Linked DNA regions of Homo sapiens: regions 2, 3 and 4 are each linked to region 1. Evidence: promoter capture Hi-C in human tissues and cell types (Jung and others, 2019). All regions are on one chromosome and are shown on one strand. The core of a region is centred on a gene start or on the middle of the fragment in contact, and the rest is flanking DNA. Distances in the headings are between cores, read along the strand shown. Region 1 holds the start of GSTA4 (glutathione S-transferase alpha 4). Region 2 has its middle 8.6 kb from the start of GSTA1. Region 3 has its middle 22 kb from the start of GCM1. Region 4 has its middle 22 kb from the start of GSTA5.

What was found. The method cuts DNA at HindIII sites, captures the fragments that hold promoters and counts their contacts. A contact is called where the count stands out against the background at its distance.
Region 2: a fragment that was not itself captured here is called in contact with the fragment with the promoter of GSTA4 in region 1 in 1 of the 25 tissues and cell types used here (mesendoderm cells).
Region 3: a contact is called between a fragment that was not itself captured here and the fragment with the promoter of GSTA4 in region 1, in 1 of the 25 tissues and cell types used here (spleen).
Region 4: a contact is called between a fragment that was not itself captured here and the fragment with the promoter of GSTA4 in region 1, in 1 of the 25 tissues and cell types used here (liver).

Annotation. Positions count from the first base shown.
Region 1 is chr6:52,991,737-52,999,699 of GRCh38, reverse strand. GSTA4 (glutathione S-transferase alpha 4) reads left to right here and starts at 4,416. Exons shown (of 7, transcript NM_001512.4): 1 at 4,416-4,451; 2 at 5,439-5,543. The coding sequence starts at 5,457. RN7SK (RNA component of 7SK nuclear ribonucleoprotein) reads right to left here and starts at 4,080; the gene lies at 3,749-4,080. RefSeq lists silencers at 3,843-3,932, 4,264-4,495 and an enhancer at 4,093-4,312. The HindIII fragment of the contact is 14,338 bases long and covers 578-7,963 here.
Region 2 is chr6:52,808,448-52,816,410 of GRCh38, reverse strand. It overlaps the pseudogene GSTA6P. Among named protein-coding and RNA genes, the nearest start is that of GSTA1, 8.6 kb to the right of the region's middle. RefSeq lists an enhancer at 780-829. The HindIII fragment of the contact is 8,412 bases long and covers 1-7,704 here.
Region 3 is chr6:53,167,130-53,175,092 of GRCh38, reverse strand. No RefSeq gene overlaps it. Among named protein-coding and RNA genes, the nearest start is that of GCM1, 22 kb to the right of the region's middle. The HindIII fragment of the contact is 8,076 bases long and covers 1-7,120 here.
Region 4 is chr6:52,858,598-52,866,560 of GRCh38, reverse strand. It overlaps the pseudogene GSTA11P. Among named protein-coding and RNA genes, the nearest start is that of GSTA5, 22 kb to the right of the region's middle. The HindIII fragment of the contact is 6,606 bases long and covers 1,064-7,669 here.

The DNA.
Region 1 (7,963 bases), core at 3,167-5,666:
CAATGTCTACGTGCGAGTGGGCTAACAGAATGAAAAAAATTAGTACTTTGTTAATTTAAAGAAAGGTATCCTTGGCATTTTCATGCGTAAATACGTGAAAGCATGACTATAATTACCTTAAAGGTGTTTAGCATTATGCAATATTGGAACATCTGGACATTCTACTGTCATAGGAATTTGTCCTTCCAGGTATTATTAAGCTATTTCCTCAGCTGTAGACATCTTAAGATGGAGCTGATTTTTTTGTTTTTTAATCTAGTTTAAGTTCCAGAATACAAGCGCACAACGTGTAGTTGTGCCATGGTGTAGTGTGCCATGGTGGTTTGCTGCACCTATTAACCCATCATCTAGGTTTTAAGCCCGGTATGTATTAGATATTTGTCCTAATGCTCCCCCTCCCCTCACTCCCCCACCCCCCGACTGGCCCTGGTGTGTGTTGTTCCCCTCCCTGTGTCTATGTGTTCTCATTGTAAGATGGAGTTGATTTTAAAATGCTGTCACCCTGGCTCTCCTACACTCCTGTTTCCCTAACTCTAGGATGATGTTGCCTCTATTTTATAAGATTGGACATCTGAAACTGCCATTTTTGAAGGTTAAAAACAGTAAGATATTAGCAATTTGGTATAATTCAACCAGTTGGAACTAAGCAAATGGAGACAAGTGCTTGGCTTAAATGTCTAATAAAAGCAATCACAAAAGCCAGGTGCAGAGGTACATGCCTGTAATCACAGCACTTTAAGAGGCAGAGGTGGGAGGATCACTTGAGCCTAGGAGTTTGAGACCAGCCTGGGCAGCATAGTTAGACCCCTTCTCTACAAAAACTAAAAATTAGCCAGTAGTGTCATGCGCCTGTAGTCTCAGCTACTCAGGAGGCTGAGGTGGGAGGATCACTTGAGCCTCGAAGCTGTAGTGAGCCCTGATCGCACCATTGCATTCCAGCCTGGGCAATACAGCAAGACCCTGTCTCCAAAAGACAAACAAACAACAACAACAACAACAACAACAACAACACACGATCACAAAAGACTATAAGAACCACAACCTTCCACAATGGCCATTGCAGTCTTACACAAAAAAATACTGGGATTATTGCCCTTGTTATTCATCTTTGCAGCAAAGGATACTTATTTTAAAACAATTATGCCATCGTCATTTTTGTCCTTTAAAAATCTTTGTTTTATTTTACCTCCCTGAATACACACATAATTTACTATGGCATGCATATTCCTATTGCAAAATTCAATTTCCAAATAAATATTTTTAAAGAGCCTCTTTCTGTTTGTTATTTAGGTTAACATAAAAAATCTAGAGATGATTTAAAGTAAACCAAAGGATGTGTGTTAAGTTACATGCAAATACTACACCGTTTTATATAAGGGACTGGAGCATGGTCTGATTTTGGTAGCTGAGGGGGTTCTGAAACCAATCCCCCACAGATACTGAGGGATGACTGTACTTTAAAATATCATGTTGTACACAGTAAAAATATACAATTTTATTTGTCAATTAAAAAATAAGCTCCTTGAGGGCAAGAACTGGATTTTATAATTTATTTTTTATGTCTCAGTAAATCCAGTAGACCTCAGCACAGATGTTCAATAAACCTTCCTTAATTATAAACTAAAAGCAAGAAAAAAAGAATGACCACTTTCAGCAAGGCTGGAAAATATGGCTTCCTACTCATGTTAAACTGAGTAATTGCTGTTAAATCAGAACTAGAAATATGATTGGATATACACTGTTAAGTCTTTTTTGAAAACGACTTTTCTGACTTTTGGGGTGCCCAGTGGTCCTTGACTTACCTCTCTTCTTACCCTGCATACCTTCTCTGGATGAGCTCATTCTTTTGCCACCAATTCAACCGATTTCAGTTCTCTCTACTGAGTCCTCACTGGGTTGGTTTTTGTCTTTTCGGTTTTTTTTTTATAGGGAGTCTTACTTTCTCGCCCAGCTTGTACTGCAGGGGCGTGATCACGGCTCACTGCAACCTCCGCCTTCCAGGTTCAAGCGATTCTCCCGCCTCAGCCTCCTGAATAGCTGGGACTACAGGAACAGGCCACCACGCCCGACTAATTTTGTATTTTTAGTGGAAACAGGGTTTCACCATGTTGGCCACGCTGGTCTTGAACTCCTGACCTCAGGTGATCCGCCCGCCTCAGCCTCTCAAAGTGCTGGGATTACAGGCGTGAGCCACTGCGCCCAGCCCTCAATGGCTTTTTCAACTGTCTAGTGGGTATTTCCAGCTGGATGGTTCATAGCAACAAAAGACAAGTCAACCCATTTTCCCCAAACTTTGTCTTCCTTCTCCGCTCTTTATGGAACTAGAAACCAAAGCATTGCTCATTCATTCATTCAACAAGTGTTCTCTGAATACCTACTCTATACTAACCAGGATGTACAAAAGGAAAACCAAAAGCGCAAAAATCCTCGATCTCGTGGAATTTACATTCTAGGAATCTACAGACAAATAAATAAAAAAGTCCTGTTAGATGACAATACATGTTATTAAAAAAAAGACAAGAAGTGTGTGTGTGTGTGTGTGTGTGTGTGTGTGTGTGTGTGTGTGTGTGTGTGTGTGTTGGACAGGGCATCATTCTAGACTTTTCTTCCTCCTCCCTTCCCTTTGATCTGATTAGCAATTGCTTTACCACCTACCTCCTTAGTATTTCACCTTTTCTTACTCATATTCTTCAAACTCATGGTGCTACTTTAATTTACACAGACACAAGAGGTTTCTTTCTCTACCCCTACTACCCCAATTCATTCGCCTCACTTTGGCCAGAGAAACCTATTGAAAATAAAATCTGATCATGTTAGCGGCTGCAATTGTTCAGCACCCAGGCTTGTCAAGCAAGGTACTCTCGAGCGCCCCCGTGGGTGAAGAAAATAACAACATCTATAGCCTGAGAAATAGCAGAAGCTGCCTCTAAAAACAAAATTTATTTTCGAAGGCATATATTTCAAACTTTGAAATCCATGTGAATTTTGCAATTGTTCCATAATATAGCCCTGATAGTTTTAATATATTTTTAATGTTTTAACTAACTTGCCAGCCAAATTATTCTTTTAGCACCACCCCCAACTCCAAAGACCCCCTTCCAAACAGGTGCTGACTTGAGACCGTGACTATAGAGCACTTGTCTCTAAAATGTACAAAATGAAGAGAAATCTCAAGATGTCCCACTGAGATGAAGAAAGAAAGAAGAAAATATGTATGTTTGTATACATGTATACATGTATATATATGTATACACAAAATTAGAAAAGTTAGGGTCTACTGTATAAATTAAATAAGCGTTGACAGTGCTTTTGATTTTAATCTGTATGTGGTACTTTGCCTGCTTAACACCCTTATGTGGATTTCCTGACGGACTTGACATTCCTGTCAGGAAAGCATTGCGTACTTGCTGATTAAAAAGCATCTAAGGGCCGGGAGCGGTGGCTCACGCCTGCAATCCCAGCACGAGGCAGGAGGATCACCTGACGTCAGGAGTTCAAGACCACCCTGGTCAACATGGCGAAACCCCGTCTTTACTAAAAATAGAAAAATTAGCCGGGCATGGTGGCGCGCGCCTGTAATCCCAGCTACTCGGGAGGCTGAGTCAGGAGAATCGCTTGAACCCGGGAGGTGGAGGTTACAGTGAGCCGAGATCCGTCTCAAAAATAAAAAATAAATAATGAAAAAAATTAAAAATTTAAAAATTAAAAAACATTTAAAAAAGCATCTAACTTAGATGGGTAATGGGTCAAAAGAAAGGCAGACTGCCACATGCAGCGCCTCATTTGGATGTGTCTGGAGTCTTGGAAGCTTGACTACCCTACGTTCTCCTACAAATGGACCTTGAGAGCTTGTTTGGAGGTTCTAGCAGGGGAGCGCAGCTACTCGTATACCCTTGACCGAAGACCGGTCCTCCTCTATCGGGGATGGTCGTCCTCTTCGACCGAGCGCGCAGCTTCGGGAGGGACGCACATGGAGCGGTGAGGGAGGAAGGGGACACCCGCCTAGCCAGCCAGATCAGCCGAATCAACCCTGGCGATCAATGGGGTGACAGATGTCGCAGCCAGATCGCCCTCACATCCGAGGTACCCAAGCGGCGCACAAGCTATATAAACCTGAAGGAAGTCTCAACTTTACACTTAGGTCAAGTTGCTTATCGTACTAGAGCTTCAGCAGGAAATTTAACTAAAATCTAATTTAACCAGCATAGCAAATATCATTTATTCCCAAAATGCTAAAGTTTGAGATAAACGGACTTGATTTCCGGCTGTTTTGACACTATCCAGAATGCCTTGCAGATGGGTGGGGCATGCTAAATACTGCAGTCTCCATTGGTGAGGTCGTCCCGGAGCCTCGCCCAGCTCCCGCGCGCTAGAGCCGCCTGCTGGTCTCACCCAGCCGGGACCGCTGACCTGGCGCTTTGTGCGGCTCCAGGCCTCCGAGTGGACTCCAGGTCTGTCTCCCTCCTGCGGTCGCCCCCTTCCTCGCCCTTTCTCTCTTCTTTTTTTTCCCTCCCCTTTACTCTCTGAGTCTCACTCTCGCATTCTTCCCTCACTCCCCCAGTTCAGTCCTTCTCTTGTCTTTTCTTCCTCTTGTCCTTTGTCCTCCTGCTCCATCCAGTCTGGGCAGAGGTGGGCCCCTTGGCTGGAGCTGGGGTCCTTCTTGGCTCAGTGTGCGTATTTTTTTTTAAACCCCTTCTGCGGAGTCTGAATGCATTGGTGGAAGGTGGGCTCGGATCGTCCCCGGGCCTGGCTGGGCTGCCGCTACGCCCCTGCATGGGCTGAGCGGGGAAGACGAGCATGGGAGAGTGCGATCTCAGATGGCCAAGCCCTGGCCCCCGGCTCGTTTTACAAGGCCGGGGGCTCATCTCCCTGTAGGGGTGGTGGACACGCGGGACCCGGGGGGCGCAGCCACCGCATGCGTGACGGTGGACGCACATTTTGCAGACAGTAGTAGTACTCGGCCTGTTCACCTTCCAGTTGCCGTGATAATAAAATATGATGATGTATGTAAAAGCATGAATACTTGAAGAGCTTCCAGTGGCTGTGCGATTTTCCTTCGCTACCCTCTTCAACGCCTGCCACCCCCTATCCCCCAGCTGAATTTGGAAAATCTGAGATTCTCGAGGTCAAAATATATAATATTCTGAATTTGTGAAATCCCGTACTGCTAGCACATATGTTTTTACAACAAATGGCCCCAGCTTCCCAAGATCCAGGATAAGAAGTCATAAATAGAAATCATATAAAAGCCAAGGTTTTTTTCTCCATGTTTTAAAATGGTGGTTTTTTTTTCTTGAGTGAGGGAAAATGCAGCAACAAAAATAAAGAACAGTTTCCCGTGCCAAAATCCTGAATATTCATTTCGCCCCTGAGCACTGGGTTGAAGACGCGAAATTGGGACTGTTGGTCTGCGACGAGCTGCTGCATTTGTATTTCAGAAAGCCTGAAAAGCTATCATGGCAGCAAGGCCCAAGCTCCACTATCCCAACGGAAGAGGCCGGATGGAGTCCGTGAGATGGGTTTTAGCTGCCGCCGGAGTCGAGGTACCTTATATGCTGTTTCTTCACGGATTTGTCATACAGCTTTTGAGACCTTTGAAAGAAAAATACGTTTTGAAGCACCGTTCAGTTCTAGTTCTCGTCCACCAAAATCACAGGCACGCTTCACTGAGTCAGATACCATCCCTGAAGGGATTTTTCTTTATAATTAGAACGTAGTTGATGGAATTCTATTTTCCTTTTGACTTTTACTTAATTATTGGCTTCTGATCTAGCACCAGTGAATATTTATTAATAAGAAGAAAGGAAATTTACCTGAAAATTGTCAGTTACTCTGAGCTCTTATTAATTATGCATTCTCAGGGTAAATTTCTTGTTTTCTTCAGTGGCTTCAAACTGGCAGCCTTGGTATCTTGCTTACATATGTGTGTGTGTCTGTTTTTGTTTTCGTTCTGTTCTTTTAGCTTCTTAGTATGGAAATTTTCAAATACCAATAAATGTAGAGAGAACATTGCCATGAATTCTATGTACTCATCACCCGACTTCAGCAATCATCAGCTCTATGCTAATCTTGTTTCATCTATCACCTCCCTTCCCTTGTTTTGTGGGAGTATTTTAAAGCAAAATCCAAACATCATAACATTTCATCTGGGAGTTCCTCAACATTTTCCTCTAACAGATGAGGATTTTAAAATGTAACAATATTATTATCACATCCAACAAAATTAGCAATTCTTTGTCATCTAACCTTCAGTCTGATTGTCTCAAACAGGCATTTTGTTTGTTTGTTTGTTTTTATAGTTTGTTTTAGTTTGGATCTAGACATTGGTCTACGCATTACATTTAAAATGGTTATGTTTCTTTCGGTATTTTAAAAACCTGTAAGTTTCCTCTTCATTTTTTACAAATTTATATTTGGGAATATTTTCAGATTTATAGAAAAGTTGTAAAATAATACAGTCCCTCATTCAGTCTCCCTTAATGATAACATCTTACATCACCATGTCATATTACGAAATTAACATTGGTGCATGACTAACTAAACTACAGACTTTATTCAGATTTCACTGTTTTTTCTACTAATGTTCTGGGTTTTTTTTTGACGGAGGCTGGCTCTGTAGCCCAGGCTGGAGTGCAGTGGTGTGATCTCGGCTCACTGCAACCTCCGCCTCCCAGGATCAAGCAATTCCCCTGCCTCAGCCTACCTAGTAGCTGGGACTACAGGTGCACACCACCACGACCAGCTAATTTTTGTATTTTTTTAGTAGAGACAGGGTTTCTCCATGTTGGCCAGGCTGATCTTGAGCTCCAGACCTCAAGTGATGCACCCACCTGGGCCTCTCAAAGTACTGGGATTACAGGTGTGAACCACCACGCCCGGCCCTTTGCTAATGTCCTTTTACTATCCCGCGATCCAACATTATATTTATTCATCCTGTTTCCATAGTTGCCAACAATCCATGACAATTTCCCAGTCGTTTCCTTCATTTTACCATCTTGACGGTTTTGAAAAGCACTGGTCAGATATTTTTGTAGAATCCTCTACAAATTGGGTTTATCTTGTTTTTTTCATGATTAGACTGAGGTTATGGGTTTGGGGAAAGAATGCCACAGAGGTGAAGTATGTTCACGTCATCATATTAGGGGTTACGTATCAACATGAGTTGTCACTGGCAGTATTAACCTGGATCACATGGTTAAGGTAGTCTCTGCCAGGTTGCTGCATTTTAAAGTTACTATGTTTCCTTGTATTCTTCTGAAGCAGATCATGAAGTCCAGCCCACATTCAAAATGATGAGAATTAAGCTCTACCTCCTGGGTGAGGGAGTATCTACATTTGGAATTTTTATATAAGGAAGATTTATCTCCACTCATTTCTTCAGTTATTCAATTCTTTGTGTCACTATAGACCTAAGTATATTGATTTTATATTTTAGATTATAGTCTGATGACTTAAATTGCCTAAATTGTTTCAGCTTTAGCCACTGGTGCTCTTTCAGGTTTACCTTTTTTTATTTCAGATTGGCCTCTTTTTTGTTCTCAGCACTTTCTGACAGTATAAAATGCTCTGTGCTCATCTTGTATTAATATTTTCCCTTCCCTAGCCCTAGAATCAGGAATTTCTTCAATAGAAAAATGGTATTAACCAGCCGGCACGGTGGCTCACACCTGTAATCCCAGTACTTTGGGAGGCCGAGGTGGGCAAATCATGAGGTCAGGAGTTCGAGACCAGCCTGACCAACATGGTGAAACCCCGTCTCTCCCAAAAATACAAAAATTAGCTGGGTGTGGTGGCATGTGCCTGTCGTCCCAGCTACTCAGGAGGCTGAAGCAGGAGAATCGCTTGAACTGGGAGGCGGGGGTTGCAGTGAGCCGAGATTGCCCCACTGCATTCCAGCCTGGACAACAGAACGAGACTCCATCTCAAAAAAAAAAAAAAAAAAAGGTATTAATAGCCAAGATCT
Region 2 (7,963 bases), core at 2,249-4,748, 180 kb after region 1:
CTGCCAATCAGACAAATTTTAAATCTACACACAACCTGGAAACCCACACTTCCAGTATCCCTCCTTTCCATACCAAACCAATGTACATCTATATATATTTGATTGATGTCTCATGTCTCCTGAAAATGTGTAAAATTAAGCTGTACCCTCACCACCTCGACCACACGGTCTCTGAATCTCCTGAGGGCTGTATCTCAGGCACTAGATACTCATATTTGGCTCAGAATAAATCTCCAAATATTTTACAGAGTTTGACTCTTTTCAATAACATTGGTAGTTACTGATTCTATGAGAGGAATACAAGGAAGGTCGTGATACTTTTGTGTTATTTTTATACATGTTAGAAATTTATGTAATAAGGGGATAAAATGTATATCAGGAAGTGAATGTAAAGTTAAAATGCATACCACACATGAGAGGTGGAAGGCAGTGGATTATAACAAATAACCTGTTAAAGACTGAGTATATTAATTCGATGATTATTTTGTTGTGCACCTACTAAGTGCCAGGTGCTGTGTGAGGTTCTGATGATAGACAGTGAACGAGACAGACTCAGTTCCTGCTCTCGAGTAGCCTACATACCTATAAGAATGGAGACAAGTAAACAGGTGATTAAAATCAGGAGCTTCCAGGAGAACACCCAAGCAGTCCCCAGCGTTACCAGGTCATCCTTCCAGTGTTTGAGCAGGAAATGCTGGGAGGTGTCTGTGGGACTCCGTTGAGTGCTGCCCTCTAGAGGTGTCACTGAGAAAAACACTTCCAAGTCCAGAACAGAGTCCCTCAGGGGCTGCCTGAGGGTTTTCCTCGGGGTAACTCATGGACAGACTCAGGAGATCTTGTCCCTCGGGTGGCAGCCGAAAAGGAGGGTTTCAGGTGAGGTGGCATCCTGTGAAAGGAAGTTCTAGCGCGCCCCTTCAGCCTCACAGCGCCGTGTGGGCCTGAACCTTGGGAAGGCACTTTCTTCATTGCTTCACGAGGGCCTGGGACTTTAGCCTCACCCTTTCTCAATCCTATGAAGAAATAAGCACACAAGAAATCCAAACACTGCCATTCCAGGTTGTTTTCTTTGTATGAATGAATACCCTGTCACCCAGACATCAGCTCTACAGCTCAGGGATGTGTTCAGAGCCCGGGTAGGAAGAGTTCAGCAGGAGGGAGGGAGGGGCAAGGCTGGGAGGAACCCAGACTCCCTGGCCTCCAACCAGCTTGACTGAAGGCGGGGGCAGGGCTGACTGCAGACCTTGCTCAGGCTTCTGGGGTCTCAGTGCCCTAAGGCTGATGATCACAACCCAGTCCTCAGCCTCACAAGCACATCCCACTTGCCAATCCCACCCCACCTCGGTCACCCTCCTGCCAGGACCACCCACCGTTCCTTAGGTTTGTCCTGAATTGGACGCTTTATTAATTGCTGGCACACACCCCCCATGATCTCCACATCCTGGTCCTGTGCGATCATAGATCCACAACAAACTGTTCCATGGAGCAAGCTAGAAACCCCCAAATTCCTGAACTTTCACCGTAAAGAACTCCATTAAACTATAAGTAACCACTGCAAACACAACTACCATTTATTACTTGATGTTGATGCACGCGGGTCAGGCCCTGTATCATGCATTTTGAAAACATTACAATATTCTGTTTAAGAAAATATTCTATCCCCATTTTGCAGATGAGGAAACTAAGGCTTGAAGATGTTAAGTGATGATTCCCAGATCACACAGCTATTTTGAGGCAGAGTCAAGATTGGTACCAGATCATATCAACAGTGAAATACAGGAAATCTTGGTAAGTGTCTACTTTGACTTTTATTTTTATAGATTCTGCCTATTAAGTCAACTGCATTGTTATGCAATAACTGGTTTTCATAGTTGTATTAAATACCTGCATCCACTCAGAGCTTCTGATCAGATTGAGACAGCCTTATTGCTGGCTGCCATTCCAACCAAAGTGACTACACTCAGGACAAGGTGTGATTTATTTCAAAGTTTAAATCACTGATATAGATCAGCAATAGAGTATATTTTCATCAATATTAGATTGATTTAATTTTTTTAAGGATGATATGAAATAGCAGCCATACTTCAGAATCCTAATAGTGTATGTTTAATGAGCACTTACACACTTGCTACTTTTCTGAGTGCTTTGCATGACTTTGAAATTTAATCTTCATACCAACCTATAACATAGGTACCATAAGTATTCCCATTTCATAGATTAGGATACTGAGACACAGAGAGATTTAACAATGTGTCCAAAGTCAAGAAGCCAGGACATGACAACAGTGATATTAAACCCACACAGCCATGTCACAAGCCAGAGATTTTCATTAAAAATAATGTTACTGTGGGGACTTTAATTCCTTCCTGAAATTGAGAATTCTATTCTATTGTGTCCCATATTCTCCAGGAGGGAAAATTATAATTGCAAGAGTTATAACTGTGCAACAGCTATGACCTATTTCAACTTTAGCAGGGCTCCTACAAACTAAGCTGATGTAAATTATAGCAGAGGGCCCTTGGTGGCAGAATCTTTGGTGGCCACTGGCCTATGGCATACCCATGCTGGGGTCACAAAGGTTGTGGTCTGATCTCACTCAGAGACATATGCTTTCCTAAGATATGACAACATCATAATTAGAAGAACTGCATGATCCTTTAACTGCAGTGACATCCCCTCTCAAATCATGACCTAATCATGGACATGGGAGCGATCAAGGTGGAAGTAAAGTGAACTAGAAGATTGAGCGACTATGTGCTGTGATCCATGCCCTTTTCTCGATGATCTAGTGTAAATTTCAAAATGGCCACCACCAGCCTCCTCTGTGTGCTCTGCCAAGCTCAGAAATCTTATATTTTCCAAATTATGTACCAGCCAGAAGCCATTCAAGGTTAAAGGTCTACAGTGCTATGGAATGAATTAATAAGAGCCCATTTACTGTTTCTGCTTCCAGTTTGAAGAGAAATTTCTGGAATCTGCAAAAGATTTGGAAAAGTTAAGAAATAGTAAGATCAAGTCTCTAAGTGCCTCTGAGGAGGGTATCTAGTAGAAGGTACACAGGGAGGTTTGAACAGCCAGCAATGCTTACATGTGTGTAGGGTTGTAGTTGGTGATGGTGGAGAGGGAGAAAATCATAAAATGGAAAGGATGGGCTCCTAGAGCAGGTCTGGCAACTCTTTCCAGGCTAAAAAGGGCCAGACTTCTCTTTGTATTTGCTGGAGAACCATCTCCAGCACTCTGAGGATCCCTTTTCTTGCTTTCCTGCTTTTGGCACCATGAGTGAGCTGTGGTCATCAACTCAGGATCTCATATAGCCCACCCCATCCAAAGACACGCAAGGACATGTTTTAGACAAAAGGAGTTGAAATAGGTCCATTTTGAATTGTTTCTATTATAAGTTTGACAAGGTGATATCTTTGCAATATTGTCTGCTTAGATAATGAGACAGTGTTGACTTGGTTGGAAGTCCAGGTCACAGGGTGAGGAGGGACATGAGCCAGGGTAGAAGCCATGGGGTAAGAAACACAGAGCCTGCCCTGCACACACTGTCTAATGGGGGTATTGAAGGGCACACAAAGAGCCTACATAGAAGCTTCTCTCAGAACTGTGTTTAATGTCTTCAACAGCATGAGACTTACTTTGAGAAATTCCCATGTTAAATGGCATCTGGCTGGTGACCTGTTGCAGTCTCTCCCAACTTCTTCCTAAGATATCATGAAAATAAATCAACACAGACAATACAAGCGACCTATTCTGTAGCTGGATGGGAAATAAAAACATAAATGAAGTAACAGTATAAAAAGTAAAAGAACGCTTGATAAGAAAAAGCACTTCCAGAAGCTAAAAATAAGTTCCTATTTCATTTGAACAGTTGCCAGGCAATTTTTTTTTCATTTTATACATTTAGTCATTTCCACAACCACTTTTTCATCCTGAAAGGGTGGGATTCATAGAAATTTCACTCTGCCTTTTTTTTTTTTTCTATTTTCTAAAGATGGGAGTTTGTTCTTCCAGCAAGTGCCAATGGTTGAGATTGACGGGATGAAGCTGATGCAGACCAGAGCCATTCTCAACTACATTGCCAGCAAATACAACCTGTGTGGGAAAGACATAAAGGAGAGAGCCCCATATAGTATATTTTTTGTTCTTCCATCAACAGAGAACACAGAGTGATTTCGGTCCTTCTGTGAGTGGGCAGGACCGTGGAAGGAGCATCACGACTAGCAGCAGGCTGGGCCTTGGGCATATACGCTGGTGTCCAGTATTGCAGAGTCCCATGGAGATGAGAAAAGAGTGAATATGGGGAGGGTTCAGGCAAGTGTGATTCTAGAAGACAATGCAGCCTATGGATCCAGCACCCTGACAAAGGTTTCCAAACGCTGATGAACCATGAACTCAGGAGGATGGGGAATCATGATTCCAGGTGCTCGGGACTTCAGAGGCTGGACTCCAGCCAACAGCTTAGGACAAGGCATAGAATGTTTGAGAGTCGGTAGATGAAGGCCTGGGGAGAGAATGCTGCAAAGGAGCTGAATCTCAGGTTCCAGTAATTCCAAGAATGGTGACCAGGAACCTAAGTTTCCAGCCAGTTGTATGAACTGGTCCACTTGACTAAGGTTTGAGAGGCTGGTGCCCAAGATACCAGGATTACCTAAAGTGCAGCATTTGATACAGACCTAAGCAGCCAGACTGATTTTGCATCAGCAAAGCTGGGAGGAGGGGTCTCCTCCTTTGCTGGCAGTTCCTTGAGAAGTCCAATATAGAGTTACCAATGACCTAGCAATTCCACTACCAGGTCTACATCCAGGAGAAAGGAAAACACATCCTCACTAATCCATGCACAGAAATGTTCATAGGAGAATTATTCATGCTATGCAAAAGGTGGAAACAACCCAAATGTCCACCCATGGATGAATGGAGGAACAAGTTGTGCTGTAGCAGACAATGGAATATTCTTGGGCTATGAAAAGGGATGAAGTACTGATGCATGCTACAACATGGGTGAGCCTTGAAAACATGTTCCATAAAAGAAACCAGACACCAAAGGCCACATGTAACATGAATTCTTTTGTATGAACCATCCAGACCATTTGAGTCCAGAAAGGAAATCAGTTGTTGACAGGGGCTGGAGAAAGGGGACAATGGGGAATGGCTGCCAAAGCATGTGCTACTGCTTTCCCAGGTGATAAAAATGTTCTGGAATTAGACAGTGACAGTATTTGCAGAATTCTGTAAATGTACTAAAAATTACTGAATAATATTCTGTTAAGGGGTGGCAATTATAGTATGTGAATACATGTCAATAAAGCTGTTATTTAAAAGTATTCGCCAGGTATGGTGGCTCACGCCTGTAATCCCAGCACTTTGGGAGGCCGAGGCAGGCAGATCACCTGAGGTCGGGAGTTCAAGATCAGCCTGGCCAACATGGCAAAACCCCATCTCTACTCAAAATACAAAAATCAGCCAGGCGTAGTGGCAGGTGTCTGTAATCCCAGTTACTCGGGAGGCTGAGGCAGGAGAATCGTTTGAATACAGGAGGCGGAGGTTGCAGTGAGCCAGGATTGTACCACTGCACTGCAGCCTGGGTGACAGAGCAAGACTCTGTCTCAAAGAAAAATAAAATACAGGGCCAGGCACAGTGGCTCATGCCTGTAATCCCAGCACTTTGGGAGGCTGAGGTGGGTGGATCACGAGTTCAAGAGATCAAGACCCTCCTGGCCATCATGGTGAAACCCAGTCCCTACTAAAAGTACAAAAATTAGCCGGGGGTGGTGGCGTGCACCTAAGGTCCCAGCTACTCAGGAGGCTGAGGCAGGAGAATCACCTGAACCCAGGAAGCAGAGGTTGCAGTGAGCTGAGATTGCCCCCACTGCACTCCAGCCTGGTGACAGAGCGAGGCTCTGTCTCAAAAAAAACAAACAAACAAATAAACAAAATAAATAAATAAATAAAAGTTTTGTAGGAAACACAGTTTGAAATGAGAAGAAAGAAGATGTCCTATGCTATGCACTGGTTTTAACTATATGAATAATTTTACCATGTTTACCAATTTTACTATGTAAACAATTTTCCCACATTACCATGGGAATATTAGGTGAGGTCTTGAAACACAATCATGACTAGAATTGGACAACATCATATGGAAAAGGTAATGGAACAATGTTTTATGGAAAATAATTGAGAGAGCTTCTTTTTTTTTTGTTTTTTGAAAATTAGTAGCTTGCTTGAAAAAATATATTTTTTAGGGGTATCTTTTAAAGACATACCTTATTTCCTAGTTTTTCCTTTATTAATTTTATTTTTTTCTTTTTTAAGAACTTCTAATATTGGGCATAAAAGTGAGCCTGGGATTTGTAGTATGATGAGAGAGGAAAACAGACACGTTCGAGATCACTGTGCTGGGGAGGCTGTCTTGGGATTATGTAAATGGCAGGGCTTATGTGTAAAACAAACCACAGCAGAGTGAGCAAACCCTATTTGTAGCATCAGTGGTTACTTGCAGTGATTCCACTAATTTCTCTCATGACTGTGACGCTGGACAGGTCACCGATGTTTCTTGTACCTGTATTTGGTCATGTGTATAACAAACATTTTAGATATAAATCTATCACAGTAGAGTGTTCTGAGAAATAAATGTAAATATATTTATAAAAATCATAGCCTAATGACTAGCATATAAAAGGCACGCAGTGGAGCTGAATTACTTTCCTGTCACCTAATGCTTCACGGTCTCAAGTGTTTAAACATAAAATCTAAGGCAGAAGGCACTCAGCAGTTTGGTTATTTTTGTCTTACGGGGTCGAAATGTATACAGAAGGTAGGGCAGGTTTGAGTGAAAAGCTTCTTCATTGCTCATTGCATCCACCTGAGGAAAAAGATGCAAAGCTTGCCCTGATCAGAGGGAACAACAAGCCATTATTTTCCTGTCTTTGAAACTGTACCTGGGAGCTTCTGGATAGCTGAACACGTGGAGCTTCTTGGAGGGTGGCCTGTCCAGGGAAGGCATGGAAGGTCCATGCCCCTTCCCCAGATCTCGCCCTAGGCATTTCTTCAGCTTTTTAGTGGCTACATGATTTAAGCCTCAAAACTACAATAGAGAATTATTCAGTCAGATATATGGATTACCACCTAACAAGGATAAAGTAAATCTAAAGTCACAGTCAATACTCTGCCTCAAGTGGAAACTGTGATGTTTCTGTCTGGCACTGCCAAGTTTGCAGAACAACAAGAACCAAAAATCAAGAGAGAAGAACTTCATTCGGTTTTAGGGGTGACCCACAGCAAAGTGTGACAAATGGAAAGAGGTCCAGTGAGAACCTCAAACTTAATGTACTGTGAGGCTATCTTGAAAAACAGGCTCCTGGGCCTCTGCTCTTATGCTGCTTCTTTTATGACAAATAACACCTTTAGATCGCACGACAAAAAAAAGTAACACGAAAGACTACAAAAGAAATGAAAAGAAAGTCCTGATTCTACAAAGGATGCTAAGCAGATGAGAACCAATACCAAAACCAAGGACCAACCTGAGAATAAAAAGTGAAAGAGTTCAATGCAAAGAGAAAAGAGTTCAGCCCAGGTGCTGACTTGCCACAAGGCACAAGGAGCCTTTGTGGATACAGCACCTGGTTGACGGATGGGGTCCATGGCAACGGGCAACATAGACCATGTCTTGTTGCAACTTCCAGAAAAACTGTGGAAGTGAAGACAGTCCAAATGAGAATAAGCAAAAGGTGTTTATACAGAGCTTGCTATAGAAAGGAAGTCAGCCGCCATCTTTTGCATTTATCAGAGATTCAGAGGTAGGCAGGAAAGTCTGAGAGATTCATGGTAGAAAAAGTTATGTCCTGATTGCTGGCCTAGGGATGCTGTAAGCTGGCTAACTAGAAGTGTGGATTTCTATGGGATTAGTCAGAGATCCATATTTTGCTTTCTGTGGTTGGTCATAAATTGAAAATAGAGGCAAAAA
Region 3 (7,963 bases), core at 1,833-4,332, 180 kb before region 1:
CTTCCCTTGCAGAGCTTATCTTCTAGTGTGAGAAAACAGAGATCACATCATGAATATACAGTCTTTTAGAAGGTACTAAATGCTAGAGGGAGAAATAGGGTGTGTAAGAGGAATTAGGAGTGTCAGAAGGGGACGTGTGGTGGCTATCCTTTAAACAGGTTGACCATGTGAGCAAAGATGACAAGATGTGAAGAAGGCAGCTCTATGGATATTGGGGGAAAGAGCAGTGGAGACAGAGGGAACAGGCAGTGCAGAGTGTCAGGCATGCCCCCTGGCTGGAGCAGAGTGAGCCAGGCAGAGGGTAGCTGAAGGCATGATCAGACAGATGATCTGAGAAATGTGGTCTCTGGCTGTATAGCCCGATATGGTCATCTCTGGCCACAGATGGCTCTCAGCACTTGAAATGTGGCTAGTCCAAATTGACATGGGCTGCATGGCTTTTTGTTTTTTTTTTTTTTGAGATGGAGTCTCTCTCTGTCACCCAGGCTGGAGTGCAGTAGTGGCATGATCTCGGCTCATTGCAACCTCCACCTCCCAGGTTGAAGCAGTTCTCCTGCCTTGGCCTCCCAAGTAGCTGGGACTACAGGCACATGTCACCACACCCAGCTAATTTTTGTATTTTTAATAGAGATGGGGTTTCACCATGTTGGCCAGGCTGGTATCGAACTCCTGACCTCAGGTGATCCACCCGCCTCCGCCTCCCAAAGTGCTAAGATTACAGGTGTGAGCCACTGCGCCTAGCCTGGCTGCATGATTAAATAATACATCATGTTTCAAAGACTTTGAATGAGAATTAGTTGTAATTTTTCTCAATTTTAATTTTGATTCCATGTCAAAATAATGTTTTAGTGATATTGGGTTAAATGAATATATTATTACAATTCATTTCATCTGTTTATTTTTACTTTTCCATGGTGACTCCTGGGAAATGTAAAATGCCCTGTTTTGATTGGACTTTGTTGGTCTAGAATCTTGCATGTCTTTCAAGGATTTTGGCTTTTATTCTGACTAATGTGGGGAGCCCATAGATAGTTTTGAGCAAAGGAGTGACATGGTCTGGCCTTTTTAAAAGAGGTCACTCTGGGTGCTCAATTGACAACAAATTGGAGGAGATGTAGGAAGACCACCTAGGAGGCTATTGAGTAATCCAGGGGAGACATATTGATGGCTTACCTCAGAGTGGTAGTGGGTGGAGGTGGTGAGACATGGTAAGAATCCATATATATGTATTTTTTTTCTTTTCTTTTCTTTTTTTTTTTTTTTTTTTTTGAGATGGAATCTCGCTCTGTCACCCAGGCTGGAGTGCAGAAGCGTGATCTCAGCTCACTGCAACCTCTGCATCCTGGGTTCAAGCAATTCTCCTGTCTCGGCCTCCTGAGTAGCTGAGACTACAAGTGCATGCCACCACACCTGGCTAATTTTTATAGTTTTAGTAGAGACGGGGTTTCATCATATTGGTCGAGCTGGTCTCAAACTCCTGACCTCAGGTGATCCACCCACCTCACACTCCCCAAATGCTGGGATTACAGGCATGAGCCACCATGCCCAGCCTAATTTTTGTATTTTTAGCAGAGACGGGGATTCACCATATTGGTCAGGCAGGTCTCAAACTCCTGACCTCAAGTGATCCACCTGTTTCAGCCTCCCAAAGTGCTGGGATTACAGGCATGAGCCACCACACCCGGCTTGAATCCCAATATATTTTAAAGGTACAGCCAGCAGGATTTCCTGAGGGAGCTGATATGGAGTGTGAGAGAAATAAAGTGGTCACTGATGCCTGCAGTGATTTTGGCCTGAGAGCCTGGAAGGATGGGTAGCCATTAACTGAGACAGGAAGACTGTGGGCAGAGCAGGGGAATATGAGGATAACAGTATGGGGGCCGATTAAATGGTCATGCAGAGAAGTTGAACAGTTAGGTATCAGAGTATGGAGCTCAGGGGCTCAGACTTCTGTCTGAGCTGAGTATGGGGCTCAGACTTCTGTCTGAGCTGAGTATGGAGCTCAGACTTCTGTCTGAGCCAGAGGTATAAATAAGTGCAAGGACCATGCCTTAGACAACTTGGTAAGGATAGATTGGGGAGAAAAGGCAGACTCCACAAAGAACTAAGAGGGGAGGAGAAGCCAGTTGATGGTGCCCTGAGGATCGGTGAAGTGAGGAGCTAGCAATCAAGTGCTGTTTATAGATAAAGTGAAGATGAGGACAGGGTTGACTAATGGATGTAAGTGATGCAGAGGTCAAGAGAAGTTCCTTTGGAACGGTCTGAGCAAAAGCTGATTACAGTGGGTGTAGCCGAGAATAGCAGGGAAGGCTTTGGAGTTGGTGAATATCAGTAAGTATGGAAAACCCCAGGAATTACTGGAAAAAAGAACAGAAATAGGGTCATAGCTGATAGAAAATTGGGGCCCAAGAGGAATGATAAATAATGATGGGATAGATAACAGCAGGTTTCTGTGCTAATAGGAATAAGCTAGTAGAGAAAGGAAAATTGATGACGTGGGGGAAAAGGTCGTGAAAATTTTCTGGAGTCATGTTTCCGTGGAAGTGAGAAGGGATTTTACCTAGGGCACGGGAAGGGTTGCCCTTAGGAGCCAGGACAGTTCACCTACCTTCGCTGGCAGGAAGGCCGACCTGTGGTCGTGGTAGGGCGCTGTGAAGTTCCGTCTATCTGCTTCGTTTTCTCAGTGAACTGGAAAGCAAGGCCATGAGCAGAGTGAGGTGTCGGAGCTTAGCTGAGTGAGTTGCAAGTGTGAAACAGTGTGAGAATGAACGGACGGCGGGGATACAGGGTAACATTCACGGACATGGGTTTAAAGTGATGACCCAGGATTGTGGTACCTGCAAAGGTGTTGAGGGTGCATTCAAGAGAGTGATCTTAATGACTGACATAGAGTCAACTCACTCAAACAAATATTTGCTGAGTGCTTATCACAGCAGCAATGTATTATAATAAAAACTGCTTTTTAGGCTGAGTTGCTACACATCAGTGAGTGTTCCTGCACTGCCTCCCGATGGCCGTGACAGGAACTGCGGCTGAGGCACCACCCGACCTGGGACAGGGCTGCCATCTCCCGGCCAGTCCCTGCTACTGCAAGTGCAGCAGGCTCAGGCGCTGCTGGACTTTCTCGGTGCCCTGGATTGGTGACTGGTAGAAAAGATGACCAAGCCGAAGGCTAGTCCTGTGTGGCCATTACCTCTGCCCTTGCCTACCCTTCACTTTTCCATTCTTATTCTATTTTACTTATTTTTAAAATAAGTTTTTAATAGAAATTTCTTTTCTCTTATTTTATTTTATTTTTTTAGAGACGGGGGCCTTGCCATGTTGCCTAGGCTGGACTTAAACTCTTGAGCTCAAGCTATCCTCCCGCTTCAGTTTCCCAAGTGACTTGGATTATGGGCACAGCTGCCATACCTGGTTCACTTCTTATTCTCAGTAACAAGCAAATTACCCCCTTCTAAGGGGTGTTCCTTTCCTGAGAAATTTCCCATCTTAGCAGACAACTCTAAATATCAAAAAACCCTTGAGGACCAATGAAATGAAATTATCATTGAATTTCAAGCATCTGTGGAATACAAATGCAGGAAATATTTTAGATGCAAGGGTCCACACTGCCCCCAATATCCTATCCCGTAGATAGGGTACCACACTCAGGGTAATGAGTTTTGTGCTCTTCTGTCACACATCCCATTAGATGTTAATTGAGAATCCATGATGCTCTAGGCTCTGGATAATGTATGCATTGCCCAGTGATTTGGTTTCGGAAACCTCAAATATTCCCCACTCTTCACACTAATTTCCTGTGTTGATTAAAATTTTTACTATTAGTCGTTTTAGCATAGAAGTATTGGAGCCCTTGAAAAATCAAGTAAATTGGCCGGGCGCAGTGGCTCACGCCTGTAATCCCAGCACTTTAGGAAGCGGAGGTGGGCGGATCACCTGAGGTCAGGAGTTCGAGACCAGCCTGACTAACATGGTAAAACCCTGTCTCTACCAAAAATACAAAACTTAGCCAGGCGTAGTAGGAGGCCCCTGTAATCCCAGCTACTCAGGAGGCTGAGGCAGGAGAATCACTTGAACTCGGGAGGCAGAGGTTGCAGTGTGCCGAGATCGTACCTTTGCACTCCAGCCTGGGCGACAGAGCGAGACTCCGTTTCAAAAAGAAAAAAGAAAAAGAAAAGAAAAATTAAGTAAATTATCTGATAGGGCTAGACAATATATCAGGCTTTACTTTGCTAATATATCAAATTAGTTACCTGACACTACAGCCCAAAAGAGACAGAGCTACAAGTGGGCAAATATTTTTCAGTTATTTTTTTTTTTTTATCAAAGCAATACCTGCATGTAAATTCGAGTAGTGAAAAAGGCTTGTCATGAAAAACTGCAGATAGCTAACTGCCTTTTCTTTTTTTTTCTTTTTCTTTTTTTTTTTTTTTTTGAGATGGAGTTTCACTCTTCTTGCCCAGGCTGGAGTACAATGGCGTGATCTTGGCTCACTGCAATCTCTGCCTCCCAGGCTCAAGTGATTCTCTTGCCTCAGCCTCCCGAGTAGCTGGGATTACAGGCATGCACCACCACACCCAGCTATTTTTTGTATTTTTAGTAGAGATGAGGTTTCACCATGTTGACTAGGCTGGTCTCGAACTCCTGACCTCAGGTGATCCTCCTGCCTCGGCCTCCCAAAGTGCTGGGATTACAGGCATAAGCCACCACGCCTGGCCAGCTAACTGCCTTTTCTTATCTCATAGCCCTACACCCACAGAAAATTATCCTTATCTCTTTTAGGAATTTCCCTAAGCATTTATCTCCGTGTTTCTGAATAATATGCTCATGTTGTGTTTCTCAATTTGTTAGTTTTAGACTTTACTGATTCATTTGCCCCTCCCAAGGTAATTACATAAATATTTTCGTTAGTTAGTGGTTGGCATTTACACTACTTTGACAAATATTGTTCATTGCTAAGATATGATTCTTTGTTTTTCCTGGAATTAATAATTGCCTCATTTTTTCATTTACCTGCTTTTCAATGTATCCATAATTAATTTAATTTTGTGACTCTCTGACACACATTGAGCAATGATCTTCCTTCCCTCCTTCCTTTCTTTTCTTCTTTCTCTCTCTCTCTCTTTTTTTTTTTTTTTTTTTTTTTTTTTTTTTTGTGAGATAAGAGTCTTACTCTGTTGCCCAGGCACAACATCCTAGGCTCAGGTGATCCTCCCACCCCAGTCTCCCAAGTAGCTGGGACTACAGGCATGCATCACCATGCCCTACACTGTTTTGTATTTTTTTCTGTTTTTGTTTTTGTTTTTTTTAATGGAGTCTCACTCTGTTGCCTAGGCTGGAGTGCAGTGGTGCAATCTCAGCTCACTGCAACCTCCGCCTTGTGGGTTCAAGCAATTCTTCCTGCCTCAGCCTCCCAAGTAGCTGGGATTATAGGCATCCACCACCACACCCGGCTAACTTTTGTATTTTTTAGTAGAGACAGGGTTTTGCCATGTTGGCCAGACTGGTCTTGAACTGACCTCAGGTGATCCACCCGCCTCGGCCTCCCGAAGTGCTGGGATTATAGGCATGCACCACCATGCCCAGCTAATTTTTGTATTTTTAGTAGAGATGGAGTTTTACCATGTTGTCCATGATGGTCTCGAACTCCTCATCTCAGGTGATCCACCCGCCTTGGCCTCCGAAAGTGCTGGGATTACAGGCATGAGCCACTGCACCTAGCCAAGTTTTGTATTTTTTGTAGAGACAGGGGTGTCACTATGTTGCACAGGTCTCAAACTCCTGGGGTCAAGCAATCCACCAGCCGTACCCTCCCACAGTGCTAAGATTACAGGCATGAGCCACAATGCCCAGCAATAATATTTTCTATATTCACAAAGCTTTGCTTTCCATTTTTTTCCTATATGTACTTCTGTACTGGTCAGAGTTCTACAGGGAAACAGAACTAAGGGAGTATGTGTTGTGGGAAGGGGGAGCAGTGTGAGGGTGTGTGGGGGCGGTGGAGAGAGAGGGGAATTCAGTTTGAAGAATTGGCTCACATGATTGTGCAGGCTGGCAAGTCCAAAATCTGCAGGGCAGCCTGGCAGGCTGGAGACCCAGGGAAGAGCGGCTGCTGCAGCTTCATTCCAAAGGCAGTCTAGAGGCAGAATTTCTGTTTCTTTGAGGGTCGTCAGTCTCTGAAGGCTCTTAGGGCCTTCAACTTATTGAATGAGACCACGTGATGGAGGATAATCTGCTTTACTTAAAGTCTACTGATTTAAATGTTACTCTCATCTAAAAATACCTTCACAGCAATGTCTAGACTGGTGTTTGACCAAATATCTAGGTATCATGGCCTAGCCAAGTTGACACATAAAATTAATCATCATAGCTTAAAAAAAATTAACCATCATGACCTCTCTCCCAGATTCTTTGTTCATGAATATGGCCTTCTGCATTCCTGCCCTGCTGGAACATCCTGAGCTTTTCTTCCTTGCTCTCTGGAATGCTTTCTTTTCATTCACTTGCCCCCATTTTGGTGGAACATATCCTCCAGTAGCTTCCAGTGCACAGAAAGTGAATTTTCAAAGCCATTGTATGTTTCAAAATGTTTTTATTCTTCCCTCACACTTAACTGACATGGGTCACTCCAGAATCGTGGCTCACTCTAGCAGCTCTGGGTTGAACATACTTTTCCCTTGGAATTTTGGAAGCATTACGCCATTTTCTTCTCATTTTCTGAAGTTGATGCTTTTGAACAATCCAGTGAAATTCTGATTTCCCACCTTTTGCTTATAATTTCCTTTTTCTCTCTGGGAGTTTAAGAATGTTTTCTCTTGATTCCCAGTGTCCTGAACTTTCACAGTGGCATGTCCAGGGCAGGTCTTTTTTCACTTACTGTGTTGAGCACTCAGTAGAACTTTCATTCTGGAGTCTCATGTCCATCAAGAAAATGTATTGTATCACTTCATTCATTTCTTTTTTCCACTTTCAATGATTTCGTGGGCAGCTTTTAATTTTAGCTGAGTGGACTTTCTGCCCTGATCCTCTAAATTTGTTTTCTGTGTTTCTTCCCTCTGACTTTTTTTTTTTTTTTTTTTTTGAGATGGAATCTTGCTCTGTCTCCTAGGCTGGAGTGCAGTGGTGTGATTTCGGCTCACTGCAATCTCCACCTCCCGGGTTCAAGCAGTTCTCCTGCCTCAGCGTCCCAAGTAGCTGGGATTACAGGCTCCTGCCACCATGCCTAGCTAATTTTTGTATTTTTATTAGAGATGGGGTTTCGCCATGATGGCCAGGCTGGTCTCGAGCTCCTGAGCTCATGATCTGCCTGCCTTGGCCTCCCAAAGTGCTGGGATTACAGGCGTGAGCCACCGTGCCCAGCCCCCTTTGACTTTTTATTTAATCTTCCGGTTGGTGGAATTCCCTGATTTAATTTCCCTACTTACTATGAATTTTTTATTTACACTGTTATATTTACAGTTTCAGTTTCCCAGAACCCTTTCTTGGTTTCTGATGTTTTGTGTTTTTTTTTTCCCCTGTTGTATCTCAGTTGCTCCATTCTCAAGGACCTTAATGGCATCATTGCTGCATCTTCTTGCAATATTTCTCTTTCCTCCAAGGCTTAGTTAGTTGGTTGATTTTAAATCTCTTTTATGTTGGAGACTTTTCCCAAATGTGTAGTCTTCCTGGACTGTTTGTTCCTATTTAAGACAGTGAGGTCATTTTTTAATAAGCAGATTTGAAGTTCTATGTGGGACTTACTGATGAGTTAGTGGGTTCCCTATTAGGGAATCAATCAGTGAGCCACCCTTTTCATGGGGGAGCCCTAAGCTATTTGTACTTCTTATTTCTAAGGCCATTCCATTTTTGCAGAAAAGAAGGATCATTCATTTCCTACAGCCAGCAGTGGTGTCCAGGGCAGGCTTTACCCCTGATCTTCTGAGGACAGGATGGGGAAAAGAACTGTGGTCCCCACAGTTTATTA
Region 4 (7,963 bases), core at 3,117-5,616, 130 kb after region 1:
ATCTCATTGTGGTTTTGATTTGCATTTCTCTAATGGCCAGTGATGATGAACATTTTTTCATGTGTCTTTTGGCTGCATAAATGTCTTCTTTTGAGAAGTGTCTGTTCATATCCTTTGCCCACTTTTTGATGGGGTTGTTTGTTTTTTTCTTGTAAATTTGTTTGAGTTCATTGTAGATTCTGGATATTAGCCCTTTGTCAGATGAGTAGGTTGCGAAAATTTTCTCCCATTTTGTAGGTTGCCTGTTCACTCTGATGGTAGTTTCTTTTGCTGTGCAGAAGCTCTTTAGTTTAATTAGATCCCATTTGTCAATTTTGGCTTTTGTTGCCATTGCTTTTGGTGTTTTAAACATGAAGTCCTTGCCCATGCCTATGTCCTGAATGGTATTGCCTAGGTTTTCTTCTAGGGTTTTTATGGTTTTAGGTCTAACGTTTAAGTCTTTAATCCATCTTGAATTGATTTTTGTATAAGGTGTAAGGAAGGGATCCAGTTTCAGCTTTCTACATATGGCTAGCCAGTTTTCCCAGCACCATTTATTAAATAGGGAATCCTTTCCCCATTGCTTATTTTTTTCAGGTTTGTCAAAGATCAGATAATTGTAGATATGCGGCATTATTTCTGAGGGCTCTGTTCTGTTCCATTGGTCTATATCTCTGTTTTGGTACCAGTACCATACTATTTTGGTTACTGTAGCCTTGTAGTATAGTTTGAAGTCAGGTAGCGTGATGCCTCCAGCTTTGTTCTTTTGGCTTAGGATTGACTTGGCATTGTGGGCTCTTTTTTGCTTCCATATGAACTTTAAGGTAGTTTTTTCCCATTCTGTGAAGAAAGTCATTGGTAGCTTGATGGGGATGGCATTGAATCTATAAATTACCTTGGGCAGTATGGCCATTTTCACGATATTGATTCTTCCTAACCATGAGCATGGAATATTCTTCCATTTGTTTGTATCCTCTTTTATTTCATTGAGTAGCGATTTGTAGTTCTCCTTGAAGAGGTCCTTCATATCCCTTGTAAGTTGGATTCGTAGGTCTTTTATTCTCTTTGAAGCAATTGTGAATGGGAATTCACTCATGATTTGGCTCTCTGTTTGTCTGTTATTGGTGTATAAGAATGCTTGTGATTTTTGCACATTGATTTTGTATCCTGAGACTGCTGAAGTTCCTTATCAGCTTAAGGAGATTTTGGGCTGAGGCGACGGGGTTTTCTGGATATACAATCATGTCATCTGCAAACAGGGACAATTTGACTTCCTCTTTTCCTAATTGAATGCCCTTTATTTCCTTCTCCTGCTTGATTGTCCTGGCCAGAACTTCCAACACTATGTTGAATAGGAGTGGTGAGAGAGGGCATCCCTGTCTTGTGCAGGTTTTCAAAGGGAATGCTTCCAGTATTTGCCCATTCTGTATGATATTGGCTGTGGGTTTGTCATAGATAGCTCTTATTATTTTGAGATATGTCCCATCAATACCTAATTTACTGAGAGTTTTTAGCATGAAGTGTTGTTGAATTTTGTCAAAGGCCTTTTCTGCATCTATTGAGAAAATCATGTGGTTTTTGTCATTGGTTCTGTTTATATGCTGGATTACGTTTATTGATTTGCATATGTTGAACCAGCCTTGCATGGGATGAAGCCCACTTGATCATCGTGGATAAGTTTTTTGATGTGCTGTTGGATTTGGTTTGCCAGTATTTTATTGAGGATTTTTGCATTGATGTTCATCAAGGATATTGGTCTAAAATTCTCTTTTTTGGTTGTGTCTCTGCCAGGCTTTGGTATCAGGATGATGCTGGCCTCATAAAATGAGTTAGGGAGGATTCCCTCTTTTTCTATTGATTGGAATAGTTTCAGAAGGAATGGTACCAGCTCCTCCTTGTACCTCTGGTAGAATTCGGCTGTAAATTCATCTGGTCTTGGACTTTTTTTGGTTGGTAAGCTATTAATTATTGCCTCAATTTCAGAGCCTGTTATTGGACTATTCAGATATTCAACTTCTTCCTGGTTTAGTCTTGGGAGAGTGTATGTGTCAAGGAATATATCCATTTCTTCTAGATTTTCTAGTTTATTTACATAGAGGTGTTTATAGTATTCTCTGATGGTAGTTTGTATTTCTGTGGGATTGGTGTTGATATCCCCTTTATCATTTTTTATTGCATCTATTTGATTCTTCTCTCTTTTCTTCTTTATTAGTCTTGGTGGCAGTCTATCAATTTTGTTGATCTTTTCAAAAAACCAGCTCCTGGATTCATTGATTTTTTGAAGGGATTTTTGTGTCTCTATTTCCTTCAGTTCTGCTCTGATCTTAGTTATTTCTTGCCTTCTGCTAGCTTTTGAATGTGTTTGCTCTTGCTTCTCTAGTTCTTTTAATTGTGATAATAGGGTGTCAATTTTAGATCTTTCCTGCTTTCTCTTGTGGGCATTTAGTGCTATAAATTTCCCTCTACACACTGCTTTGAATGTGTCCCAGAGATTCTGGTATGTTGTGTCTTTGTTCTCATTGGTTTCAAAGAACATCTTTATTTCTGCCTTCATTTCATTATGTACCCAGTAGTCATTCAGGAGCAGGTTGTTCAGTTTCCATGTAGTTAAGCGGTTTTGAGTGAGTTTCTTAATCCTGAGTTCTAGTTTGATTGCACTGTGGTCTGAGAGACAGTTTGTTATAATTTCTGTTCTTTTACATTTGCTGAGGAGTGCTTTACTTCCAACTATGTGGTCAATTTTGGAATAAGTGTGGTGTGGTGCTGAAAAGAATGTATATTCTGTTGATTTGGGGTGGAGAGTTCTGTAAATGTCTATTAGGTCTGCTTGGTGCAGAGCTGAGTTCAATTCCTGGATATCCTCATTAACTTTCTGTCTCACTGATCTGTCTAATGTTGACAGTGGGGTGTTAAAGTCTCCCATTATTATTGTATGGGAGTCTAAGTCTCTTTGTAGGTCTCTAAGGACTTGCTTTATGAATCTGGGTGCTCCTGAATTAGGTGCATATATATTTAGGATAGTTAGCTCTTCTTGTTGAATTGATTCCTTTACCACTATGTAATGGCCTTCTTTGTCTCTTTTGATCTTTGTTGGTTTAAAATCTGTTTTATCAGAGACTAGGATTGCAACTCCTGCCTTTTTTGTTTTCTATTTGCTTGGTAGATCTTCCTCCATTCCTTTATTTTGAGCCTATGTGTGTCTCTGCAGATGAGATGGGTTTCCTGAATACAGCACACTGATGGGTCTTGACTCTATCCAGTTTGCCAGTCTGTGTCTTTTAATTGGAGCATTTAGCCCATTTACATTTAAGGTTAATATTATTATGTGTGAATTTGATCCTGTCATTATGTTAGCTGGTTATTTTGCTCATTAGTTGATGCATTTTCTTCCTAGCCTCGATGATCTTTATAATTTGGCATGATTTTGCAGTGGCTGGTACCGGTTGTTCCTTTCCATGTTTAGTGCTTCCTTCAGGAGCTCTTGTAGGGCAGGCCTGGTGGTGACAAAATCTCTCAGCATATGTTTTTCTGTGAAGGATTTTATTTCTCCTTCACTTATGAAGCTTAGTGTGGCTGGATATGAAATTCTGGGTTGAAAGTTCTTTTCTTTAAGAATGTTGAATATTAGCCGGGCGCGGTGGCTCACGCCTGTAATCCCAGCACTTTGGGAGGCCTTGGGGGGCGGATCACGAGGTCAGGAGATAGAGACCATCCCGGCTAAAACGGTGAAACCCCATCTCTACTAAAAATACAAAAAATTAGCCGGGCGTAGTGGCGGGCGCCTGTAGTCCCAGCTACTTGGGAGGCTGAGGCAGGAGAATGGCGTGAACCCAGGAGGAGGAGCTTGCAGTGAGCCGAGATCCCACCACTGCAGTCCAGCCTGGGTGACAGAGCGAGACTCCGTCTCAAAAAAAAAAAAAAAAATGTTGAATATTGGCCCCCACTCTCTTCTGGCTTGTAGAGTTTCTGCAGAGAGATCAGCTGTTAGTCTGATGGGCTTCCCTTTGTGGATAACCCAACCTTTCTCTCTGGCTGCCCTTAATATTTTTTCCTTCATTTCAACTTTGGTGAATCTGACAATTATGTGTCTTGGAGTTGCTCTTCTCAAGGAGTATCTTTGTGGCGTTCTCTGTATTTCCTGAATCTGAATGTTGGCCTGCCTTGCTAGATTGGGGAAGTTCTCCTGGATAATATCCTGCAGAGTGTTTTCCAACTTGGTTCCATTCTCCCCGTCACTTTCAGGCACACCAATCAGATGTAGATTTGGTCTTTTCACATAGTCCCATATTTCTTGGAGGCTTTGTTCATTTCTTTTTATTCTTTTTTCTCTAAACTTTCTTCTCACTTCATTTCATTCATTTCATCTTCCATCACTGATACCCTTTCTTCCAGTTGATCAAATCGACTACTGAGGCTTGTGCATTTGTCATGTAGTTCTTGTGCCGTGGTTTTCAGCTCCATCAGGTCCTTTAAGGACTTCTGTGCATGGTTATTCTAGTTAGCCATTCGTCTAATATTTTTTCAAGGTGTTTAACTTCTTTGCCATGGGTTCAAACTTCCTCCTTTAGCTCAGAGTAGTTTGATCATCTGAAGCCTTCTTCTCTCAACTCGTCAAAGTCGTTTTCTGTCCAGCTTTGTTGCTGGTGCAGAGCTGCGCCCCTTTGGAGGAGGAGAGGCGCTCTGATTTTTAGAGTTTCCAGTTTTTCTGCTCTGTTTTTTCCCCATCTTTGTGGTTTTATCTACCTTTGGTCTTTGATGATGGTGACGTACAGATGGGGTTTTGGTGTGGATGTCCTTTCTGTTTGTTAGTTTACCTTCTAACAGTCAGGGCCCTCAGCTGCAGGTCTGTTGGAGTTTGCTAGAGGTCTACTCCAGACCCTGTTTGCCTGAGTATCAGCAGCGGAGGCTGCAGAACAGTGGATATTGGTGAACAGCAAATGTTGCTGTCTGATTGTTCCTCTGGAAGTTTTGTCTCAGAGTAGTACCCAGCCGTGTGAGGTGTCAGACTGCCCCTATGGTGGGCTGCCTCCCAGTTAGGCTACTCAGGGGTAAGGGACCCACTTGAGGAGGCAGTCTGTCTGTTCTCAGATCTCAAGCTACATGCTGGGAGAACCACTACTCTCTTCAAAGCTGTCAGACAGGGACATTTAAGTCTGCAGAGGTTTCTGCTGCCTTTTGTTCCGTTATGACCTGCCCCCAGAGGTGGAGACTATAGAGGCAGGCAGGCCTCCTTGAACTGAGGTAGGCTCCACCCAGTTTGAGCTTCCAGGCCAGTTTGTTTACCTACTCAAGCCTTGGCAATGGTGGGCGCCCCTCCCCAAGCCTCGCTGCCGCCTTGCAGTTTGATCTCAGACTGCTGTGCTAGCAATGAGCGAGAGGCTCTGTGGGCGTAGGACCCTCTGAGGCAGGCCCGGGTTATAATCTCCTGGTGTGCTGTTTGCTAAGACTGTTGGAAAAGCACAGTATTAGGGTGGGAGTGACCCGATTTTCCAGGTGCCGTCTGTCACCCCCTTCTTTGACTAGGAAAGGGAATTACCTGACCCCTTGTGCTTCCCAGGTGAGGCAATGCCTCGCCCTGCTTTGGCTCACACTCGGTGTGCTGCACCCACTGTCCTGCACCCAGTATCTGACACTCCCCAGTGAGATGAACCCGGTACCTCAGTTGGAAATGCAGAAATCACCTGTCTTCTGCGTCGCTCACGCTGGGAGCTCTAGACTGGAGTTGTTCCTATTTGGCCATCTTGGCTCCACCCCCCAAAATTTATATTTAATGAGCAGTTACTATCACTTGCTACTTTTCTAAGTGCTTTGTGTGACCTTGTAATTAAATCTTGATATCAACCTATACCATAAGTTCCATAAGTTTACCCATTTCATAGATTAGCATACTCAGACACAGAGAGTTTCGGTAACATGTCCAAAGTCAAGAAGCCAGTACATGAAAATGGTGATAATGAACCCACAAAACCACATCAGAAACCAGAGGTTTTCATGAAAAATAATGTTAGCGTGGGGCTCTAATTCCTTTATTAAATTGAGAATTTTACCCTATTGGTCCCATGTACTTCAGAAGAGAAAATTACAGTTGCAAGTGTGAAAGCTGTGCAACAGCTGCAACCTATTTCACCCTTAGCAGAGTTTCTGAGAAGTGGGGTGATATAAATTATAGCAGAGACTCCTTGGTGGCAGAATATTTGATGGCCATTAGCCCATGGCATACCCCACACTGGGGACACACAAGGTTGTGGTCTGATCTCACCTGGAGACACAGGCTTTCCTAAGATATGACAACACCATAAGTAGAAGAACTGCTCAGTGCCTTTTCTCCAGTGATGTCTGCTCTCAAAATATGACCTAATCATAGACATTCATGAGATCAGGCTGGAGGTGAAGTGAACTAGAAGATTGAGCAGCTATGTGCTGTGACCCACGCACTTTTCTCAATAAATTAGGTCTAAATTTACAAATGGCCATGACCAGCCCCCTCTGTGTACCCTGCCAAACTCAGAAATCTTATATTCTCCAAACCATGCACCAGATAGGGGCCATTCCACATCACAAGTCTATAATAGAATAAACTAACAAGAACTCATATACTGTTTCTGCTTGCATTTTGAAGAGAAATTTCTAGAATCTGCAGAAGATTTGGAAAAGTTAAGAAATGGTAAGATCGGCCAGGTGAAGTGGCTCCTGCCTGTAATCCCAGCACTTTGGGAAGCCAAGGCGGGCTGATCATGAGGTCAGGAGTTCGAGACCAGCCTGACCAATGTGGTGAAAACCCTTCTCTACTAAAAATAAAAAAATTAGCCAGGCATGATGGTGTGTGCCTGTAATCCCAGCTACTCAGTAGGCTGAGGCGGTAGAATCGCTTGAGCCCTAGAGGCGGATGTTGCAGTGAGCCAAGATCGCACCACTGCACTCCAGCCTGGGTGACAGAGCAAGACTCAGTCTCAAAAAAAAAAAAAAAAAAGGTAAGATCAATCTCTAAGTGCCTCTGATGATAGTATCGAGTAGAAGGTACACGGGGAGGTTTGACCAGCCGGCAATGCCTATGTGTGTGGGGCGTGGTATTTGTACATGGTGCAGAGGGAGAAAGTGGTTAAAATGGAAGGGATGTGGCTCCGTGATCAAGTCTGGCAACTCTCTCCAGACTAAAAGGACCAGACCTCTCAGACTATTTGCTAGAGGAATCATCTCCCATGCCCTGAGAAAACCCTTTCTTTGTTTTCATGATTGGGGCTCCGTGAATGAGCTGTGGTCATCAGCTCAGGATCCCACACAGCTCTCCCCATCCAAGGACACGCAAGAACATGCATTAGACTAAAGGAGGAGAAATCGATGTGGCCACAGTCTTGAGTTTTTTCTTTCATGCGGGGGCATGACAAGGTAACACTGCAGCACTGCACAAACATTGTAGGCTTTGAAGAGCAGAGAAAGGGACCCTTACATAAAAACCTCTCAGAAATTGCCTTAAATGTCACAAACACCATGAGACTTACTTTGGGAACTTCCCATTTTAAATGGCATCTTGTTGCCAGTCCTATTGTAACTTGTCCCAACCTCTTCCTAAAATATCCATGAAGATAAATCAACACAAAAATACAAGAGTCCTACTATGTATCTGGAGGGGAAATAAAAACATGAATGAAATAAATCGATAAAAAGTAAAAGGAAGCTTCTTAAGAAAAAGAAGAACTACGGGAAGCTTTTTAAAAATCTTGTTTGGGCCAGGTGCAGTCGCTTACGCCTAATCCCAGCACTTTGGGAGGCTGAGGTGGGTGGATCATTTGAGATCGGGAGTATGAGACCAGTTAGGGCAACATGGTGAGACCCCATCTCTACTAAAAATATAAAAATTAGCCAGGCATGTTGGTGCACACCTGTAATCCCAGCTACTCAGGAGGTTGAGGTACAAGAATTGCTTCAACCCAGGAGGCAGAGGTTACAGTGAGCCGAAATCACGCCACTGAACTCCAGCCTGGGT